Regions from separate parts of the Homo sapiens genome. Here regions 2 and 3 are each linked to region 1. Evidence: promoter capture Hi-C in human tissues and cell types (Jung and others, 2019). All regions are on one chromosome and are shown on one strand. Each heading gives the region's core, a stretch centred on a gene start or on the middle of the fragment in contact. The rest is flanking DNA. Distances are from core to core; before and after follow the strand shown. Region 1 has its middle 13 kb from the start of DSCAML1. Region 2 holds the start of TMPRSS4 (transmembrane serine protease 4). Region 3 holds the start of BACE1 (beta-secretase 1).

Region 1 (3,007 bases), core at 290-2,789:
AGGGAACTGGGCAGGTGGAGATAACTAAAAAAGAGTGCATAAAAGAGTGTTGTCTAAGTTGGCACCAGAGTTGGGGAGTTTTAAGAGGTTTAGAAGTCTGGCTGTCAATACGCACAGCAGTTATGGAGGCAAGGGAAACAGGCCTTTGAAAAGAAGGTAATGTGGAGTGGGTAGCCTCCGTATTGATTAAGAAGGGGATGGACTTACACTCCACTGTGAGAGTTACTTAAAGCTCGGCATCCGCGATGGTCTACGGGGCTTCCAAGGCAATCAGGCAGCCTCAGTCTTCAGCTGCTAAGCCGAGAAGGAGTCAGTCAGGGAGCCTTGGGCCAGAGTTCCAGGGGCTCTGGGAGTGGCTGCCAGGTGAGTTGAACAGTCCGATTTCCAGTGGGGTCCCGCGCAGATGGGACACGGCTTAGGAGGAATCCTGGGCTGCAGGCATTCCTTGGCCTGGTGTCCAGATTTCTAGCACTTGTAGTAAGCTCCTGGGGGAGGAGGTTCTGGAGGAACGCCTGGCCGCTGCAGTTCAGGCGTTTGGAAGTTCTTGTGTGCTGGAGATGTAGCTGGGGTTTGTCTCACAGTGGAGGTAAGGAATTGCAACTTTTTTTATTATTGTACACCTTGAAGGTGAGGTTAATTAAGTCCTGTTGTGGGGTTTGAGGGCCAGATTCTAATTTTTGGAGTTTTATTTAATGTCGGGAGCAGATTGGGTAATAAAATGTATATTGAGAATAAGATGGCCTTTTGACCTTTTAGGGTCTAGGGCTGTAAAGCTTCTCAGGGTTGCTGCCGAACGAGCCATGAACTCGGCTGGGGTTTTATATTTGATGAAAAAGAGCCTAAACGCTATCTGATTTGGGATAAAGAAAAAGGAGCATTAACCTTGACTATGCCTTTAGCTCCAGCCACCTTTTTAAGAGTAAATTGCTGGGCAGGTGGGGGAGGGCTAGTCACAGAACGAAACTGTAAGTCAGACCGGGTGTGAGGAGGAGAGGCGATAAAAAGATTACAGGGTGGAGGAGCGGAGGCTGAGGAAGAAATGGGACCTAGCTTGGTCTGGCGAGGAGGGGAGAGGTCAGATGGGTCTGTAGAAAAGGAAGATTAGAAAGACTCAGCGACGCTTGGGGTTGGGACTGAGGGGACAGGCGGGAGGGAAAGAAGGAAGATTTGGGACGAGTTGCACTGGGCACAGAGACTAGGAAGGGACTGATGTGTAAAAGAATGCGTGGACGTCAGGCACCTCAGATCATTTGCCCATTTTACGACAAGAATTATTTAGCTCTTGTAGGATGGAAAAATTGAAAGAGCTGTTTTCCGGCTATTTGGAACTACTGTCGAGTTTGTATTGGGGTCAAGCGGCATTGCAGAAGAAAATAAGACACTTTGATTTTAGGTCAGGTGAGAGTTGAAGAGGTTTTAAGTTCTTAAGGATACAGGCTAAGGGAGAAGAAGGAGGAATGGAAGGTGGAAGCTTGCCCATAGTGAAGGAGGCAAGCCTAGAGAAAAGAGTAGAGATACGGAGAAGGGGGTGGGGGTTTCTTGCCCTCCAGAAAAGCAGAGAAAGGGTTGGGGCACGGAAATAAGGGATTGGGGCACAGAGATAAGAGGTCGGGGTGCGGAAATAAGGGATTGGGACACAGAGATAAGAGGTCGGGGTGCGGAAATAAGGGATTGGGGGTTCTTGCCCCCTAGAAAAGCGGGACTTGCCACTAAGGGTGAAGGAGAAGGGGTTGAGGGGTACTTGCCCCTCCCCCAGAGGGCGCTGGAGTTTTGAGTCCACGGAGTTTTGGGTCCACGGAGTTTGGGTCCACGGAGTTTTGGGTCCACGTGTCTCCTTTGTCTCTATCAGAAAATGAAAGGAATTGAAATTAAGAGAAGGGAGAGATTGAAGTGTGGCGCCAAGATTGAAATGTGAATATGTATGTATGTGAATGTGTGTATGTGTGTGCGAATGTGTAAGTGAGTGTGTGAATGTGTGTGAGTGTGAATGTGTGTGAAAATATTTGAATATGTGTGAGTGTGGGAATGTGTGTATGTGAATGTGTGTATGAGTGTGTGTGAATGTGTGAGTGTGTGAATGTGTGTATGTGAATATGCGTGTGTGTGAATGTGTGAATGTGTGTGTGAGTGTGTGGGTGTGTGTGTGTAAGAGTATGTGAATGTGTAAGTGAGTGTGAGTGTGTATGTGACTGTGTGAGTTTGTGTGTGTTGTGCGTTGCTAGTTGAGCTGGAACTGGGGAGGAGCAGAGCAACCCAGGAGGGTTGCGTGGGTGGACCTAGCATCTGGAGCGCTGCGCGGCGATTCAGCCTCCTCAGCTGAGAATCAGAGGTCTGTTTTGGAGGACACCATTGGTCCCCTCCAGTAGTTCTTAGAGGCTGGCAAGGACACAGGCTGGGGCAGGGAGTGAGCCCAGCCTCCGGCTTCACTGCGAGACATGACTGGGGTGAAGGGCAGGACCTGTGTAGTGGAGAATTTGAGTGGCCGCCGTCTATGTTGTACTGCACAGCAGCCTGCGGCGCCACCATCCTGTCCTGTGGCACTAGGGGGAGGCAGACACCAGGTTCCCAGTGCGGAGGCCTGGAGCTTCCTTCCGCGGAGGACCGCAGAGACACATCCAGTAGTGGGCCAGGGAGGCGGGTTGTCCTCTCCAGCCATCAGAGCCACGCCCAAGGAGTCAGGCACAGCGGGGAGGAGGGCTCCCCTCCCTTCCCACAGCTCCCACCCTTCCCACACTGCACTTTCCAGGAGTGCAGACGCGGCAGCTGGCCTCCCAGGACCTGCCCCACCCTGGAGGTCTGCACTGAGCCCCTTCGCCAAATGAGGCAAGACTTCTCCTGAGCCTGGGGTCTCAGGGCAAACTCCTGAGGTCGCCTCTCCTAAATCTGAGGCATTCCCAACGGATCTGGAAGATTCATTCTCTCTGGATGGATTTTTCCTCCTCTCAAGCTTCGCAGTGGAAATGATATGAAGCAGGGGCGGGGCAGTGACGGAGCTGCTAGAGCAGGG
Region 2 (2,922 bases), core at 98-2,597, 270 kb before region 1:
GTTGGGAATAGGAGACAATCACTCGAGGGGCCCCTGCAGGTCACACCCTTCCCCCTTGGACAGTGGCTTCTCCTTTCCTCTCTTCCCTTCCCTTTCACTTTGGTGGCTGGGCAATTGCTGCCTCTTGGCCAAGGACTGGAGAAGGAAGACCCCTGGGTTCCTCCTCAGACCCAGTTATTATCTCTTCCCCTCCCTGGCCCTCAGCTGTCCTCCTTGAAAGATAGGGTTGATTCTCTTTGCCCCAAGACAGCGAAGACGCTCCAGGTATTCAGAGGAGGAGGAGAGAGGGTGAGGGCATGAAAAGAGACCAAGTAAAAGATGACCACAAACACCCTAGATTGTTTGGAGGCATCTCTGCACTGTTTTCTTTTCCTTCTTTCTTTTTTTTTTTTTTTTTTTTTTTTTTTTTTTGAGACGGAGTTTCACTCTTGTTGCCCAGGTTGGAGTGCAATGGCACAATCTTGGCTCACCACAACCTCCGCCTCCCAAGTTCAAGCGATTCTCCTGCCTCAGCCTCCCAAGTAGCTGGGATTACAGGCACCTGCCACCACGCCTGGCTAATTTTTTGTATTTTTAGTACGGATGGGGTTTCACCATACTGGCCAGGCTGGTCTCAAACTCCTGACCTCGAGAGATCTGTCTGCCTCAGCCTCGCAAAGTGCTGGGACTACAGGCGTGAGCCACTGCACCCAGTCTACACTTTTCTTTAAAAAGAAAAGGAATCAGTTTCCCCAGGGAGTGGCAGAGGGCAACCGTGGCATCAGAACAGCCCCCTGCCTTGGAAAAATAGTGCCAACCTCTAACCAACAGACCTGGAGACATTGGGCAAAAGAACATGCAGGATTCAGGAAAGAATAGTCGGGAAGGACAGCCCTGGCTCTGTGCTCAGCTTCTTAGGTGAGCTGGTCCAAGGACCATGGCAATGGAGGAAGAGAGGAAGGCAGGTGGGTATGAGACGTGTACCGGGCTGGGGTGTGAGGGGATTTGGGTGTGGCCTCTTTTTTTAACCTAGAAGGTGTCACAGAATTCTCAGCTGATGGATGCTCAGGCTGCTTGAAGGGCCTTACATGGGGAGACCCACCCTTCCTGTGTCTTGGGAGCAGAGGGCCCCACACTCACCATGCTGGCTCTGTGATCCTCCCGGTCTCCCTGTAGCCTGGAGCTGAGATTGTCACCCCAAGGCAGCAGGAGGGCCTCCCCACACAGGTCCTGGCTGGCCAGCAGGTCAGAAGTCCCTGGTCAGCACTGGCTGGAGGAGGCCCGAGTGCAGGGCAGGCCTTGGTCCCTCACGCCCAGCATCCTTGTCCGCTGAGCAAGCTGCTGCCTCTCTCTGTGTATTCCAGGAGTGATTGGGGGACTTTGGGCAGCTTGATTAAAACAGCCCTACAAGTGAAGTTGCCAAACTGGAATGATTATGTGTCTTGTAACCTGACACCTATCTTAGGGGCTGGAACAACACCTGAAGTCATTCATGGGACCTTCGGCCTCAGAACAGGTGACACACCTAAGGCGTAACAAAAGCCTTCCCGCCTGAATGACTTCCACCCAACTGGGTGTTGGCTGAGGGTGATGCCAGAAGTTTCCGCCCCCCCTCCCCCTACCTTCTAGGTGCATGACTTCTCACTGTGTGGGTGCTTTGGTTTGGGGTTGTGGGAAGTTGGAGTGGTCTGGGGGTTGGGCGACAGGGTTTGCAGCTCAGTACAAAGAGATCATTGCCAGGTGTGGAGCAATAGGATTGGAAAGTCCACAGAGAAGGAGGGAGTTTCTTCTCTTAGGGAGGTAAGATGTACCCCCTTTCCCTGGATCCCAGAAGTGAAGCTGTCCTGCACAGAGCCAATGTACTAGTGCTTCCTGCCCCTGCCTCAGCAGCCGTTCAATATTCTGAAAATCACTATTGGTGCTCTGGCTAGAGCCCACGTCTCCTCGTCCACGGAGTCATTTCCTTCTTTCTTTCTTTCTTTTTTTCTTTTCTTTTTTTAAGACAGGGTCTCTCTCTGTCCCCCAGGCTGGAGTGCAGGGGCGCAATCTCAGCTCACTGCAACCTCCGCCTCCTAGGTTCAAGCAATTCTCGTGCTCCAGCCTCTCGAGTAGCTGGGACTACAGCCACCTGCCACCACACCCAGCTAAGTTTTGTGTTTTTGTATTTTATTTTATTTTGAGACAGAGTCTCTGTTGCCCAGGCTGGAGTGCAGTGGCGCGATCTTGGCTCACTGCAACCTCCACCTCCCAGGTTCAAGTGATTCTCCTGCCTCAGCCTCCCAAGTAGCTGCTGGGATTACAGGTGTTGTGCGCCACCATGCCTGGCTAATTTGTATTTTTAGTAGAGATGGGGTTTTGCCATGTTGGCCAGGCTGGTCTCAAACACCTGGCTTCAACTGATCCACCTGCCTCAGCCTCCCAAAGTGCTGTGATTATGGCGTGAGCCACCGCACCCAGCCCCACAGGATCATTTCTGATTCACGTTCTGCCACATCCTGATAGCTGGAGCTGCCCCCTGGCCAGGGGATGTGCAAGGTGAAACCTTACAGCCACAGATATTTTGCTGGGAGAGACTTGGATAATTGTCCACATTGTTCCCCCATTCTGTGGGCGACAAAACTAAATTCCAGAGAGGCAAAGTCAATGACCCAAAGTCACATAATGAATTAGTGTCTGGTTCCATATGAATCCAGATCTCCTTCCATTTCTCAGACCTGACCCTCCCAGGAGACCAGCCTGGGTTAGACGTGTGTATTTGTCCTTCTGTTGATAACGTGCTTCTGTGTATCAGCCCTTTAATTCTCCAACAACAACCCCAATATTTTGTTCCCATTTGTCAGCTGAGGAAACTATAGCCTATGGACATGAAGTAGTTTCGGGCAGAGTTGGGGCTGGAACCTGGTTCTCTTACTGGTTCACACTGCCAGGCTTGTGAACAGGCTG
Region 3 (2,974 bases), core at 85-2,584, 490 kb after region 1:
ACGCCTTCTCAAAAAAAAAAAAAAAAAGAGTAGAGATAATGATCTTTCCTTTCCAAAGCCTGCCTTTAATGGGAGTAACGTAGCCTGTTATTACTACATTTGTTGTTGTTGTCGTTATCTTGTTTAAAAAGTTTCCTGGCTGGGTACAGTGGTCCATGCCTATAATCCCAGCATTTTGGGAGGCCGACGTGGGCGGATCACTTGAGGCCAGGAGTTCGAGACCAGCCTGGCCAACATGGTGAAATCCCATCTCTACTAAAAATACAAAAATTAGCTGGGTATGGTGGCGCATGCTTGTAATCCCAGCTACTCAGAGGCTGAGGCATGAGAACTGCTTGAACCCGGGAGGCGGAGGTTGCAGACTTGAGACCATGCCACTGCACTCCAGCCTGGGTGACAGAGCAAGTCTCCTTTTCAAAAGAAAAATGAAGATTCCCTTTCATTTTTTAAAAAAATTAAATCAGAGTAACTGCTGAATTTTATCAATGGCTTTCCACATTTGATAAACAATATATTGTTAAAACCATACCGGCTTTTCTCCTTTAAGCTATTAGAACTCTAACGCTTTTGGTTCAAGGCTTTAAGCTCTTACCAGTTAATATAGAGATACTTTTCGGAGTGTTAACACTTTAAAGCTATCAACAGCCATTTCTCCTCAGTCTGGCTGATGGTGCAGAAAATCAGAGGAGCCATAAGGATTCAAGTAGAGCCTCAAGGGCACAAACAGGTTCAGATGGGAGAAGACCCACTGGCTCTTACCTGCCCGCAGATCGCAGGCGCAGGAGAAAATAAGACAACTGCACTTTCCCCTTTTGGACCCTGCTCCGCTGGTTTGCAGCCTGGAAAAACTCTTCCTCCCCTTTCATCCTGCTCCCTCAATCTCTGCTCGTGAAAATCCTACCCATTTTTAAACGCTCAAATTAAATACCACCTTCTCCCACTGAGTCTTCCCAGATCCCCTAGATGTCCCTCCAAATCCCTACTCCTTAATGCCACATCGTATAGTGTGAAACCCCACCGCGGCAGGAATCACTTAACTGTCCCGTGTAGAATCACCGTTTATTTCTCTCTGTATCTCCAGCGCCTGGCAGTGTGCCTGGCATACAGTGGGTGCTCCTTCCATGCTGAAAGAAAGACTGACAGACGGGAGGTGTGCCCCTCTCCATCCGTCTGGCCCTTCCCGCCAGGGCCTTGCAGGGCGGACTCCACCTCGGCAGAGGGCATCCCAGACCCCTCTCCAGCCCCGGAAGCCGGATTGCCTGCCATGGGAAGACTACACTTCCCAGCGATCCCAGGGAAAAGCGAAAACCTTTTGGCTTTGACAGCCGCCGCCACAAGTCTTTCCGCCTCCCCAGCCCGCCCGGGAGCTGCGAGCCGCGAGCTGGATTATGGTGGCCTGAGCAGCCAACGCAGCCGCAGGAGCCCGGAGCCCTTGCCCCTGCCCGCGCCGCCGCCCGCCGGGGGGACCAGGGAAGCCGCCACCGGCCCGCCATGCCCGCCCCTCCCAGCCCCGCCGGGAGCCCGCGCCCGCTGCCCAGGCTGGCCGCCGCCGTGCCGATGTAGCGGGCTCCGGATCCCAGCCTCTCCCCTGCTCCCGTGCTCTGCGGATCTCCCCTGACCGCTCTCCACAGCCCGGACCCGGGGGCTGGCCCAGGGCCCTGCAGGCCCTGGCGTCCTGATGCCCCCAAGCTCCCTCTCCTGAGAAGCCACCAGCACCACCCAGACTTGGGGGCAGGCGCCAGGGACGGACGTGGGCCAGTGCGAGCCCAGAGGGCCCGAAGGCCGGGGCCCACCATGGCCCAAGCCCTGCCCTGGCTCCTGCTGTGGATGGGCGCGGGAGTGCTGCCTGCCCACGGCACCCAGCACGGCATCCGGCTGCCCCTGCGCAGCGGCCTGGGGGGCGCCCCCCTGGGGCTGCGGCTGCCCCGGGAGACCGACGAAGAGCCCGAGGAGCCCGGCCGGAGGGGCAGCTTTGTGGAGATGGTGGACAACCTGAGGGGCAAGTCGGGGCAGGGCTACTACGTGGAGATGACCGTGGGCAGCCCCCCGCAGACGGTAAGGTGGTCAGGCCAGCCCTTAGCCCTCCGCCTGCATGAGCAGAGGGGAGACAGGATGGGGATGCCTCAAGCTAGCCCCTGCTCAAATGGGCTGGTGGGGACAGCAGGAGGGACCCCTCCCCAGCCATTCCCCGGGGGTCACGTGGTTGTTGGCAGAAGTGTTCCCAAGCTCCCCATTCCCTCCTCGTCTCCCCTGGCTGCCTAGTTCCCCTTGCTCCTCATCTGACACATACGCCGTCTGGAAGGATTTGAGGCAAGACAGACACATCAGCTGGGGACCCTGACCTGGAGGAAGGGTCCGCCACAGGGGCACTATAACAGGTGTCAGCCCCCTCTGACAGTGGCCCAGTCCGAGTCTCCCAAATCCCACCACTCTAGAGGTTGGCCACCCAACCTTGTCCCCTCCTCTGATTCCCACCATTGTTCCCAGTACCTCCAGGACCAAGGAATCCTGGCAGCAGTTGAATAAGCACCTTGCTCCCACCATCTGGGCTGCCACTGGTACGGCAAAGTGAGGTTGTCGAGGCCCCCCTGACTGCACTCCGCCCGGAAGCCCTGGACAGGCTCCTGCCGTCCCCTCCTCCTCCCCTTCTCCCTCTCGCGGTCTACACTCCGGCCCCTCCCCCACCCCACACCTCCCCAGGCCAGAGGGGAACTGAACTGAGCCTGGTGAAAGAACAAATGGTAGGAAAGGAGCCAGAGCTCCCTTTTAAGAGTGGGACTCCTTCCATGGCGGGGGAGAGGGGAGTTACAGAGAAAACACTGTTATGCCCTCCCCATCCTTCCTGACAATCTCCAAGGTACCTTCAAGGTGGCTGGTGGAGGTGGCACCCTCTGCACCTCTGTGGGTGAGCAGCCCTCCATGTGGGGTGCTGTGGCTGACCTCTGTGTGCATCTGCCGCCTCTGTGGGGCAGTC

Evidence for each region. Contacts are between HindIII fragments. The study calls those that stand out against the background at their distance.
Region 2: a contact is called between the fragment with the promoter of TMPRSS4 here and a fragment that was not itself captured in region 1, in 4 of the 25 tissues and cell types used here (dorsolateral prefrontal cortex, lymphoblastoid cells, spleen and 1 more).
Region 3: the fragment with the promoter of BACE1 here is called in contact with a fragment that was not itself captured in region 1 in 1 of the 25 tissues and cell types used here (dorsolateral prefrontal cortex).

The regions. Positions count from the first base shown.
Region 1 is chr11:117,809,023-117,812,029 of GRCh38, reverse strand. It overlaps a transcript of DSCAML1 not described here. Among named protein-coding and RNA genes, the nearest start is that of DSCAML1, 13 kb to the right of the region's middle. RefSeq lists enhancers at 2,455-2,504, 2,555-2,624. The HindIII fragment of the contact is 6,582 bases long and covers 1-3,007 here.
Region 2 is chr11:118,075,503-118,078,424 of GRCh38, reverse strand. It overlaps TMPRSS4 (transmembrane serine protease 4), which reads right to left and starts at 1,347. Exons shown (of 13, transcript NM_019894.4): 1 at 1,120-1,347. The coding sequence starts at 1,122. The region is part of intron 1 of SMIM35 (small integral membrane protein 35); the gene reads left to right. RefSeq lists an enhancer at 897-1,492. The HindIII fragment of the contact is 5,819 bases long and covers 1-2,922 here.
Region 3 is chr11:117,314,616-117,317,589 of GRCh38, reverse strand. It overlaps BACE1 (beta-secretase 1), which reads left to right and starts at 1,334. Exons shown (of 9, transcript NM_012104.6): 1 at 1,334-2,055. The coding sequence starts at 1,795. RefSeq lists silencers at 1,606-1,695, 1,786-1,895 and enhancers at 2,424-2,945, 2,946-2,974. The HindIII fragment of the contact is 10,772 bases long and covers 1-2,974 here.